Linked DNA regions of Homo sapiens: all the other regions are linked to region 1. Evidence: promoter capture Hi-C in 16 types of primary human blood cells and fetal thymus (Javierre and others, 2016). All regions are on one chromosome and are shown on one strand. The core of a region is centred on a gene start or on the middle of the fragment in contact, and the rest is flanking DNA. Distances in the headings are between cores, read along the strand shown.

Evidence for each region. Contacts are between HindIII fragments. The CHiCAGO score rates a contact against its expected background, and 5 or more counts as called.
Region 2: a contact is called between a fragment that was not itself captured here and the fragment with the promoter of CCT8 in region 1, in 2 of 17 cell types (total CD4 T cells and naive CD8 T cells). The highest score is 7.4, in total CD4 T cells.
Region 3: a contact is called between the fragment with the promoter of JAM2 here and the fragment with the promoter of CCT8 in region 1, in 1 of 17 cell types (total B cells). The highest score is 5.1, in total B cells.

The regions. Positions count from the first base shown.
Region 1 is chr21:29,071,320-29,075,401 of GRCh38, forward strand. It overlaps CCT8 (chaperonin containing TCP1 subunit 8), which reads right to left and starts at 2,329. Exons shown (of 15, transcript NM_006585.4): 1 at 2,212-2,329. The coding sequence starts at 2,271. RefSeq lists enhancers at 1,401-2,312, 1,765-1,934, 2,313-3,224, 2,385-2,554. The HindIII fragment of the contact is 10,437 bases long and covers 653-4,082 here.
Region 2 is chr21:25,593,038-25,597,119 of GRCh38, forward strand. It overlaps MRPL39 (mitochondrial ribosomal protein L39), which reads right to left. Exons shown (of 10, transcript NM_017446.4): 7 at 856-921. Among named protein-coding and RNA genes, the nearest start is that of LINC00515, 12 kb to the left of the region's middle. The HindIII fragment of the contact is 1,697 bases long and covers 688-2,384 here.
Region 3 is chr21:25,636,903-25,640,984 of GRCh38, forward strand. JAM2 (junctional adhesion molecule 2) reads left to right here and starts at 2,356. Exons shown (of 10, transcript NM_021219.4): 1 at 2,356-2,986. The coding sequence starts at 2,920. RefSeq lists enhancers at 1,989-2,128, 2,866-3,366, 3,269-3,338 and a silencer at 2,349-2,538. The HindIII fragment of the contact is 2,383 bases long and covers 2,165-4,082 here.

The DNA of each region.
Region 1 (4,082 bases), core at 1,079-3,578:
ATTTACATAGTACTGCTTTACAATACAAGCCATGATTTTGTGATCCAAAACCAAGGTTAATAGCCATTACTCTTTTTTGAGAGAGAGAGAGTCTCCTCTATCGCTCAGGCTGGAGTGCAGTGAGCTGAGATCGTGGCACGATCTCAGCTCACTGCAACCTGGGCCTCCCGGGTTCAAGCAATTCTGGAGGCTCAGCCTCCTGAGTAGCTGGGATTAGAGGTGCGCGCCACACCAGGTTGGTTTTTTTTGTATTTTTTTGAGAGGCGGAGTTTCACCATGTTGGCCAGGAACTCCTGGCCTCAAGTGATCCACTGACCTCGGCCTCCCCAGTGTTGGGATTACAGGTGTGAGCCACCAACCCCTGCCAATAGCCACTGCTTTAAAAGCATCTTCAGCAATAAGAACTGTTATTCCAGCAATAACACTTAAGTCTGAACTCCTGGCTTACACTCTTGCTTCTTCCCCTCACTCCCCATTCTGTGAGAAACTACCATTTGATCAGATCCCCTCATTCCCATACTTAAGACCCTTCAATGGTTTCCCAACCAGCTTAGGATAAAATGCAAATCCCTTTTCAAGGAAACAAGGCCCTACGTATCCCGGCCCTTGTATGGCTCCTCCTCTGAACTTACCATTCTTCCTTTCTTTGGTAAGCTTCAGCCCTACAACCTGTTGTTGTTGTTGTTGTTTTAAAAAAAAAACAGGTCAAAATCATTCCTTCCTCAGGGTCTTTGTACTAGTTAGTCCCTGAGCCTGGCATTTCCCCCTAAGTAAGAGGTCGGGGGAAACAGCCCAGGCTCAGGGGCTTCTCTCACTAAGCACTGAGCTAAGAGTTCTTCCCTAAACGTCTAAGTGTTCTGTCTATTCCTGATCCTTCTTTTACAGACATTTTTACCTCCTGTCATCCTCTACTATAGTGCAGTTTCTTTCATCATTATTTGGAATTCTCCTTTTATTTAATCATTATTTCTGCCTTAGAAGGACATAAACTCTACGACAAATGGGACTTTTGTCTTTCACTGCAGTTCCTTCAGTACCTATTTATTGAAAGAAATAGCTCAGTGTTCTGTAAAAAACTACTAGCACTGGAATGACAAATAATGTTTTGTGATACACGAGTTTTCCAAAACTGTATTAGTGAAAAAAACCCAAATTGGAAGCTATTATCTCAGCCTGATTTTTTCAAGGGAATCAGCCCATATCATTTTCAAAAGATTATTCCACCAACATTTACCTTGAACCCTGACATTTACTTACTATACCGACATTATTTGAAAAGTGCATCCTACAAACATGAACCTAGTTCTATTAAACTGTTAATGCTCCCCGTACCTCGCATAAAACCTTAAATTCAACCACACTGATCTATTTCTTGAATTAACAAAATCTGGAGGACACACAGAGGAATGCAATTTGAATAGCACAAGAGACAAATTTATCAATAGTGCAGTAAGATATTTTTTAAAACTATGCTACCGAACTAACGTTCAAGAAAAGGCCATTAAACAAAAGTGTTATCTGCACCCCTCTATCACTTATCCTGCAGATTACACAGAACTCAAAGACACCACCTCTTGGTCCAATCTCCATAATTTAAAGACGAAGGAAACAAAACCCAAGAAAGTTACATTTTAGATTAAGCCAGCTAACATAAGTTGGGACCGGAACTCATTTGGCTACAACGCATGGCTTCTGTCAACTAAGCTGAAAGCCGTATGTTTCTCACTGGGAAGCAAGCAACCAAGACCCGGCCCTTTTTCCCACTCTCTTCTCTGGATCGGCTAGTTCTCGTTCTTCCCCATCCTACAACTCGCGAGCTATGTGATAATCGACGTCGCAGTTCTCAAGACAATTTCATCTACGTTATTCAATTTCACCCTCACAACCTCCTTTAAGGGTGACGGGCCTTAGCCCCATTTACGGATGGAGGCAAAACGCACGCGCGGCTTCACATCCGTCCACCTTCAAGGTGTACAATGTCGATCGTGCCGCCGATCCCTCGGCCTTCTCCCGGTCGCGGAAGAAGAGAAGTGCCCGCAGGCTCCGGTGGCCGAGCCCTTCCAAAATCACCTCCCTTTCTGGAATCTTCTCTTCCCCCGGCCGCTGAGCCAGGGCAGCACGCTCAGCCCGTTAGTAGGCCCTCCTACTTCGCCGCGGCCGCCGCAGCCCTATGCTGACGCTCCCACCTCATTCCTTTCCTTCAGCCCTTACTTTCGCTCCCTCCTTGAGCATCTGGGCAAAGCCCGGAGCCTTGGGAACGTGAAGCGCCATGGCCAGCCTGCAGGAAGCAGTTCACGCGACCGCTCGGAAGACCGCGGAGGAAGCGAGGAGCACGCACAGCCTTCTGGGAAAGCAGCGTGGGGCCGCCTCACGCTCTTCCTGGCTCTCCAATTAGCCCACCCTTTCCCTGCCGCCAGGTCTGAAGCATCGCGAGAAGAGCAACCTCTGTGGCCAGAACCAAGCTGACGATCCCCGATCGGGTCGATCGATAGGGCGGGCCCAGGGAGCCCCTCGGGTTTCTGGCTCACGCACGCGCAGACAGCCCAGGCCGTGAGAGGTTGCTCCAGTCTGTGCTCTCTGACCGTAGTCAGTAGTCACGGCGTTAGATTTTTGCGGTTTTTGATCTGGAAGCCACACATCCTTAGCTTAATTTCCACGTATCTTCCAGACCCAGCCACCAACGTCAGGGCAGGTGTGCTTTTTTTTTCCCGAGGCAGAGCATCTGCCCCATCCCCCAAAATTGTCTCTAGGCGTCCGCTCTGTGTTGGGCACCATAGGAAGCGCTGGGAATGCGCACGATAATTAAAGTCGTCACTAAGAGTAATGTAGTACACATCAAGTGCTCAAGTGTGCCATATTCTGTGTGATCTGCTTTACATGCAGTATCTCTGTTAATGGTCAGTCTTAAAAATTAATGAATTGTCGGTTAAAATACCATTTAGTTTTCCTTCCATAAAATGGAGACGATACCATTAAAAATTAAAAATTAAATGGTACTGTCTCTATTTTGTAGAAGGGAAACTGAAGTTCACAAACTGTAAATAATTTTCCCAAGATCACAGAGCTAGTAAATATTAAAGCTAGAATTCCTATCTAGATCAGACTTATTGCAAAATGCCGGTTCTTAACCACTATCTATATTCCTCTTTTCTACTTCTTCCTGGGAATATAAATCCCTTTTACTCTTTTAAGATCAGATATAAATACATATTTATTTATCTGATTTATATATATAATATACACATTTTATATAAATATATCTGATTTATATATGAATTTATAGATAAATATAAATCCCTTTGGCTTGGTGGCATGCACCTGTAGTCTCAGCTGCTTGGGAGGCTAAGGTTGGAGGATCTGCTTGAGCCTGGGAGGTTGAGGCAGCAGTGAGCTGAGATCATGCCACTGCACTCCAGCCTGGGCAAGAGTGAGGCCCTGTCTCAAAAAAAAAAAAAAATTGCAAAAATGTAAATGCCACTGATATGGTTTGGATTTTTGCAAAAATGTAAATGCCACTGATATGTTTGAATTGCCTGCCCAAATATGATGTGGAATTATAATCCCCAGCTGTTCTTGTGATAGTGAGTGACTTCTCATAAGACCTGGTTGTTTAAAAGTGTGTGGCACCTCCCCACTCTGTCTCTTCCTCCTCCTCCAGCCTTGTAGGATGTGTCTGCTTCCCCTTCACCTTCCACCTTGATTGTCAGCTTCCTGAGGCTTCCCCAGCCATGCTTCCTGTACCGCCTGTGGAACTGTGAGCCAATTAAACCTCTTTTCTTTATAAATTACCCAGTCTCAGGTAGTTCTTTATAGCGATTCGAGAACGGACTAATACAGCCACCCTTTTCATTCTTGGAAAATAGAGATATTTTAAATAAAAACATACATATTATCATGTGATAGGATTATTATTTTTTAAATAACGTTAAAAATTTATCAGTTTTAATTTCTAATATAGCAAATATTCATACCTATAACCCACATAAACAAAAGACCTTTGGGGAAGTTAATTTTTAAGAGTCTAAAGGTGTTCTGAGACTGATACGTTAGAGAACTACTGTAATGATCAGTCCCGAACAACA
Region 2 (4,082 bases), core at 286-2,785, 3.5 Mb before region 1:
TTCCTTCTCTTTGCTGCTAACATCCCTAATCAAGAACATTATATATGGTTCAATTCAGTTTCTAATGACCCCTGACATAATGATCTCAAGTAAAGAGGCTAAAACTTTGAAAATTAAATCAAATGAACCATTTTCTTAATTAGCATTGATATAGGTTTTAAGGTCTTTAAGAGTCACGCAACACATCATGCTATCAAGCTGATCCAATTGCCTAAAACCGATCATCTACAACCTTACAATAACCCATGTAACGAAGCTGAGAATTCAGTGTGTAGGACAGATTGTGTTCAGAAACAAAGGGCAGTTTCTAGAGGAAAAAAGTGAAGTCCAATTCATAAAAACAGGAGGCTGAGAAAATGGATCCAGGTCATGAAGTCATTTCTGCAGAATGCATTGTCTTGGGACTTGCTCCCCATGGGAGAACGTCATCATAAGCAGTGGACCTTTCTCATCCATGCTTGAGAAAGCACATTCTGGCTTAACTTACATGTATCTTAAGTAATTACTAGTTAGTCAGTATTCATATGAATTACGATGTTCAATTCATCACAATGACTATCTTGCCCAGTTTCAAAACACCTAAAAATTACATTCTTAAACAGTGGTTTTCAACTCAAAATTAAATAAAAATAGCAAACAATAAAATGAGGATTATAGAAACCACAAGTGTTCCTGAAGATAATTTAAAGCTTCCATTTACCACCATAACAAAACAATGAACGAAGCAACCAAAAATAAGGTAATAAGAACAAAATAAGACACAAATTCATCTTTTTTGGTCATATGCTTCATTCAGATAACAATAAAGCTAAGCCTTACTCTAACATAGCAGCCAGTTTTTAGACTTTTACTTACCTGTGTAGCTTGACTATTCTCTCAGGGTTCTGAGATGCCTTCTCTTCTATGAAATCTACTTTGTACCTGAAAAGCAGCAAAGAAAAAAACATTTTTTTAACTCAAAATATGTAAAAAGGTGTTTAAAGATACCTCCCTTTCTCTTCCTCTTCAGCCATACTTTCTGAGAGTAGGTTACACTTGGAACCTCCCTTTAATCTGGCCACAGCCCCATGACTCTGCCAAACTGTTCTCAACAAAGTCACAGACCTGCTTGGTGTCAACCCAGTGGACATTTTTTGGTCCTCATTTTCTTAATACCAATGCTCACCTCCACTTCTCAATGTGTTCTTTCTTTCCATTTTTATTTCTTTGTTCTTTTTTTTTTTTTTTTTTTTGAGGCAGGGTCTTACTCTTATCACCCACCCTGGAATGCAGTGGCATAATTATAGCTCACTGCAGTCTCAAACTTCGGGCTCAAGCGACCCTCCTGCCTCAGCCACCCAAGTAGCTGGGACTACAGGTGTGAGCCACCATGCCGGGCTAACTTTTTTTGGTAAAGATAGGGTCTTGCCATGTTGCTCAGGCTGGTCTCAAACTCCTGGTGTCAAGCAATCCTCCTGCCTCAGTCTCCCAAAATGCTGGGATTATAGCGATGAACCACCACATCCAGCCTCAAAGTGCTCTTTCCATGGGTATCAGTGGCATTCCTTACTGCTTGTTATTTTACATCTCTGGCCACTCCTGTCTTTCTCTACCCTTTGAGAATTCTATCCTACACCCTCTTTTCACGCTAAGCATCCTCCCTAGGTCAGCCCCTTGAGCTACAACTTATGTAGTTGTATGTCCTATATCTCTGCTTCTAATCTACCTACCTCTTCTGACCACCAAACTGTATATCCAAGACCCATTTGGACATCCTCTAGGATGTTCCACAAGCACCTTACCCTGAAATTTGCAAACTGCACAAATTACCACCTCTTTCCCCGCCCAAACTTGTTCTTCCTCCTGAATTTCCTGTCTTAGTACGATACCACCAACCACCCAGGTGTCCATGTGAAAAACCTGGGAGATTTCCTTGATTCCTTTCTCCTACCATATCTCCTTTATTCAATTCATTATCAAGTTGTCAATTTGACTGCCCAGTATCTCTCAAATCTACCCAATTCTGTCAGTATAGCTAAAGGCACAGATGAAACTGCACAGCCCAGGTTCAAACCATGACTTTACCATTTACTATTGAGAGCTTTGTCTGTTTACCTCAGGGTGCTAAACAAGTAATATGTGTAGGTGCACCACAGGTGTATGCACAATTATGTGGCAAAGTTAGGGAACACTGGTTTATGCAAAAACACCCACTGACTGCTACAGTCCCCCAGGCACTAATAAGGGTGCCAATTCCCTTGAATACTTATCCCTCCTGACCCACCTCCAAGAGATGCTCCTGTCCCCTGAGAGTCAAAGCCACAAAAAGGTCCCACCCTTACTCCTGCAGCAGAAGGACTCAATCACTGACCCACCTTCAATGAACCAACTCTTTTGTCCTATCAAGCTTCCTCCAGAATTATCCCCTTCCTCCTACCACACACTCAACTAAGTTACAAAAGTCCCAGAAGCCGCTACCAGTCCTTGACAGTTAGAGGAATGGGAAATCTCAATGTGTACTGAATGGAAGTCAAAAGTACACTGTCCAGTAAAGTACCATGGTGCACTTAAATGTGATTAGTACTAGTTAAAATGTGCCTTAAGTGTAAAACACATACCAGGTTCTGAAGATTTAGTGAAAAAGAATATAAAATAACATCAATATTTTAATATTGATTACACTGAGTAACATTTTAGATGTATCATTTAAATAAAATCATTAAAATTAACTTCAACTTTTGTTTTGACTTTTTTTCAATGCAACTACAGAAAATTTCAAATTATACAGATGTCTCATATTATATTTCTTTTGGGCAGCATGTGCCTAGACTTTTGTCACAGAGAGTGACTTCACGTGTTCAGATAGTCCAAAGAATTTTCTTGTCGAATCAATGCTATAAATGGTGGTTTGGTTCTACAATACTATCTGTACTCTAGTTAAAACAGTACATTACAACTGGTTTCTAAATCCACTGGTTCCAGGACACGCTAAAAATGTTTCAAGAAAAAGTGTTTCATGGGCAAATATATTTGGGAAATTTTCAATGTCCACTTTGGGAGACCGTTGAGTGCGATGAGTAAAAATTTTTTTTTTTTTTTTGAGACGGAGTCTCGCTCTTTCGCCCAGGCCGGACTGCAGTGGCGCCACCTAGGCTCACTGCAAGCTCCGCCTCCCGGGTTCACGCCATTCTCCTGCCTCAGCCTCCTGAGTAGCTGGGACTACAGGCGCCCGCCACCACGCCCAGCTAATTTTTTGTATTTTTAAAAGAGACGGGGTTTCACCGTGTTAGCCAAGATGGTCTCGATCTCCTGACCTCGTGATCTGCCCGCCTCGGCCTCCCAAAGTGCTGGGATTACAGGCGTGAGCCACCGCGCCCAGCCGAGTAAAATTTTTTAAGCCACTGTTCTTCAAACTCAGCTTAACACAGTACATGGTTTCACATGTCAATTAACATCCTATAGAAGAATACTATAAGACAGACTGCTTTGAGAAATGCCAAGCTATAAAGTATGTGTCAAAAACACACTCATAACCCAATATATTTACGATAACCTATCCCTATGAGAATTTGTAATTCAACTTCTATATACCTAAAGAAATTCTAATCAGTAAACTTTCACAATTCTTAGGTGCATATTTTGGCTTCAGACTCTGTTATTTTTTTTTTTTTACAGCACAGGTTTCTCTTTCTAGTTAGTTCTAATATTGTATTAGATTAATGTTAAAATTTAGCTCATGTTCTTACAACTGGTAGTAGAAGGTGAACTGAAAGTTTTCTGAGAACTGAGAAGCCAGGCAGGAATTAAAATGTTAAAGAAAATCCATCAAATGAATAATTCACATGCAGAAGATTAAGACCTGGCTGTGTAAACATTTTACTTCAGCTGTCAGCCCCCTCCCAAACTGCTTGCATTTTCAATCTTATCAGTGTCATTTTAAGTGTGGAGGGGTAGGAGAGAAACACTGCCAAATACACACAATTATATAGTCGCTTAACGTACATTATCACTTCACACTAGAAAGAAAAAAGGGAAACATGCCACTATGTTGATATAATGAGAAAGGCTGGTCCAAGAACAGAGAAGTAAAACAAAGTGAGAAA
Region 3 (4,082 bases), core at 1,106-3,605, 3.4 Mb before region 1:
ATTCTCTTTTCTGTAATCCATCCTGCACATTTCAATATGAGTCATCATTCTAGAGCAGCACTCTCTTGTAGAACTTCCTGCAATGATGGAAATACATTTTCCAATATGGTAGCCCCTACCCTCATGTGACTATTGAGAAATTCATATGTGATCAGTGTCAGTGGAGAACTGCATTTTACATATAATTGAATTCAAATTTATATAGCCAGCCAGGCATGGTGGCTCACACCTGTAATTCCAGCACTTTGGGAGGCCAAGGCGTGTGGATCATCTGAGGTCAGAAGTTCGAGACCAGCCTGGCAAACATGGCGAAACCCCATCTCTACAAAAAATACAAAAATTAGCCTGCATGGTGGCACATGCCTGTAGTCCCATCTACTGGACTGAGGAGGCTGAGGCAGGAGAATCACTTGAACCTGGGAGGCGGAGGTTGCAGTGAGCTGAGATTGCACCACTGTACTCCAGCCTGTGTGACAAAGTGAGACTCTGTCTCAAATTAAAAACAAAACAAAAAAAATGTATATAGCCACTTAGATCTATAGGCTACCATATTGGACACCACAGTTCTAAAATATGAGTCTTTTCTTATCTCATTGCTTTCAAAAAGCTCATTAGCTGTAGGATGAGGTCTAGACAGTAGCGTGAATGCTCTTCGTACTCTAACCTCCCCTTCAGTTTCTACCACCACCACCACCTACCTCACTATCCCGATCCCACATACACTTTAGTACTGTAGAACCTTGCTTTTTCTAAATAAACCATAATTTTTCAATCTCCTAGCTCTGGATCCTGCTGTTTCCTCTATGTAGAATGCCTCTCCTTTATGTCCTTCCCTTCAGAATTTGACCCATTTTTCAAGGTTTAATAAAGAAAGCCCTGGCCCCACTCCCAACAAAAGGAACAGCCCCTTATCATGGACCTTGGACAAGCCATTTAGTGTCTCTCCGCCCAGTTTTCTCATCTGCAAAGTGGGAATGATAACATTTCCTCTTTTATGGAGTTGTTGGGGGATTAGATATTGCGTTATTCAGACTCCATCACTGAGAAAGCATGCAATAAAAATAGCTGTTATTATTTTCTGTCCTCCTGTAACATTTACCATGTGGTATCAGGCATCTTTCCTGATAAGACTCTGTCTCCCCTCAAGACTGTGAGCTTGTTAGCAAGAAAGCCTCTATCTTGTTCATGGTTGTCCTTCAGCATCCAGCACATTGTTGCCATTTGTCAAATGCCTTGGCTGGGTGGCAAATAAATAACTTAGTCAGTTACTCACATAGGATTGCATAGAATTTTTTTAAGTATGACATTTTTGTGTATATTTTTAGGGAGGAGTAAAAGACATATAGCTGTAGCAAGAATTAGAAAAAAGAAGATGCCAACAACTTTTCTTTTTAAGCATCAAATCCTTCTCATTACTGCCCAGAAAAACTGGCATAAGCTGTTGTTAAATCTGTGCCCCTTCTCCTCGGTTGACTGGAGTACGAGTTTTAACATTTTGCCATTTTGACTTTCCTTTCTGGGTCCCCTGGGTCCTCTCCTCCCACCCCCTCCCTGGGTACTAAGTTTTCATCACTGTCACCACGGCAACAGCAAGGATGCCTCATTCCTCACAGTTCTGCACAGCTAAACTCTGGTCGCCTTTGTCCACTGAGCTAGCTGAATTCTTTTTAAATACACCACTAAATCAACTATCTGCTGTACAGAACTTCATCCATTATTCAACCTTTAAAAAAAAACAAAAACAAAAACAAACAAAAAAACAAAAGAAAAAAACTGATGTATACTAATTTCTTCTCCTGGGAATGGCCTTTTTCCAGACCTGCCAATACTCTTGAATACACCATACATTTTTGGTCCCTAGGAACAAATATAAAAATTGCCAGTGTACGTGCGTCCAATGTAAGTGTGGTGCAATTTTAAAGCACGCAACAGAGCATTCATAATGGGTTTCCCTTTTAAAAGCACAGTAGACCAAAAATAAACCTGACAAAGGGCAGCTGTAGAGTTTTAACACGTGGAAAACTCCACAAGCAGCAGTTATGTAACTTGAAAGAAACATGATAAATATTTCACACCATTAGATGAACTTCCAACTCTGACACTGAAAAAAAAGCAAAGAACAAGAACGCGAGACAAATGCACCTCAAATCTCCAAGGAGCAAAAAGCTTAAACTGAGAAGGGACCAAGGCTGTACTAAAATCTGAGACCTGACTTCCAGCACGAGTCTTGATTGCTTTTTTTTTTCTCGAGTTCGAGGCGGAGCCCGCGAACCCCATCTCCTCAGAGCGCCACCCCCTCAGCTTCGCCCGTTGGGCAGAATTTTCCAAATATCTCCACCCCTAGGCTGAAAAGCCAGAAAGAAGTTTTGAGCCAACGAGGGGAAGAAAGGAGTTGGGGCAAAACAGGAGGCGTTTCCCTACCCGCATACATCCCCGTCCCCGAGACACCCAATCCCCCCACCCCCAGCCTGCCCGCGCCTCCCGCCCCCAGCTCCTCGCCCTGGGGACAGCTGGCAGCCCCGCGCGGACCAGACACAAAGCCGATCAATCCCGGAGGCGTGGGGGCGGAGGGACGACCCGCCGGGGCTTTCCCGGGCGCTGCTCTCCTCCTGCTGCCCCCTCGCTAGGACCCGGCGGACGCCTCGTCTGGTTTTCACGCCCTCTAGCCCCTACCCCCACACCCCCAAAACAGAACAGACCCCCATCCCTGGGCTGGAGGACCCGCCTCTTGGCAGCCAGCTGAGAAGGCGCCCCGGGGAGGGGGAAACTGACATCCCATCTAGAGCCGTCCCTCCTCTTCCTCCCCTCCCGACTCTCTGCTCCTTTCCCGCCCCAGAAGTTCAAGGGCCCCCGGCCTCCTGCGCTCCTGCCGCCGGGACCCTCGACCTCCTCAGAGCAGCCGGCTGCCGCCCCGGGAAGATGGCGAGGAGGAGCCGCCACCGCCTCCTCCTGCTGCTGCTGCGCTACCTGGTGGTCGCCCTGGGCTGTAAGTTGCTCGGGTTCCTCTACCCTTCCTGCCTGGACCAGCCTGCCCCCACCCTCCAGCCCCCCACGGGGCGCTGGCTGACAGTGTCTGGGCGGCTCTGGGCCGAGGTCGCCGCGGGGCGTCTGACCTTGCGCCCAGGCGAGCGGGAAACCCAGGGTGCCCGCGAGCGGACGCTGGGAGCAAGGGAGCGCGAGGTCGTGGGTTTCTTGTGAATTGCGTCTGATTTTGTCAGTTCTAGATACAGAAAATTAAGGGTTCCCACTAGCAGGTTCTCATCTGTTTGCAAAGTTGGGGTAAGTTTTCAGACAGAGGGACGTGATTCGAATGCAAAACTCACTACCCACTGGTAAGATGCTAAGACCCCAAGAAAGATGGCATCACTGGGAGGCGGGCGCCGGCCACACTTTGAGTCCCCGGGGAGGGGGCAGCGTCCGCGTGGTCTGGGCTCTGTAGCGTCCCAGCTGAGCCGGCGATATGCAGCGCACTTGTGGGGCGGAGGTGGAGGGAATTCGTGGCTGCTGAGCCAGAATTACTTTTATCCTCTCCACCTGCACATCTACATTCACTTAGAGAAGTCTGGTCTGGGGACTCTAGCCAGCTGCTCTGTCCTCAGGGGACATCCAACGGGACGATTGTTAGAAAGATTCAGAAGCCACATGATCCAGTAGCTGGGGAGACGTCCCAAAGCCAATTTCACCGGATGATTTTAAACAGGATTTTCACGGATTCTGGACTCATGAGATTTGAAATCCTGGGAACGTTGCCGTTATTTTGTTTTCTTCGCGTTAACTTTTTAGGAAAATGGAGGAAATTACAATAGACTAAGCAATGCAGTTCTACTTTTGCTTTTTCTTTTTTCTCTCACCTTTTTTGTTTTGCTTTTTTCCCTTCCTTCCTTCCTCCCTTCCTTTCTCTTTCTTCTTTCTTTCTCTCTCTCTTTCTTTCTGTCTCTCTTTCTTTCTTTTGTAAAATGAGTTATTGTTGCTATTCACGTTCTGGTAAAGTAACACTTATAATACTTAACCTGCGGGACGAGTGTCTAATACCACAATACAATGATATTTTCTCACGCCCTCGCTGCCCAAGTGATCATCGC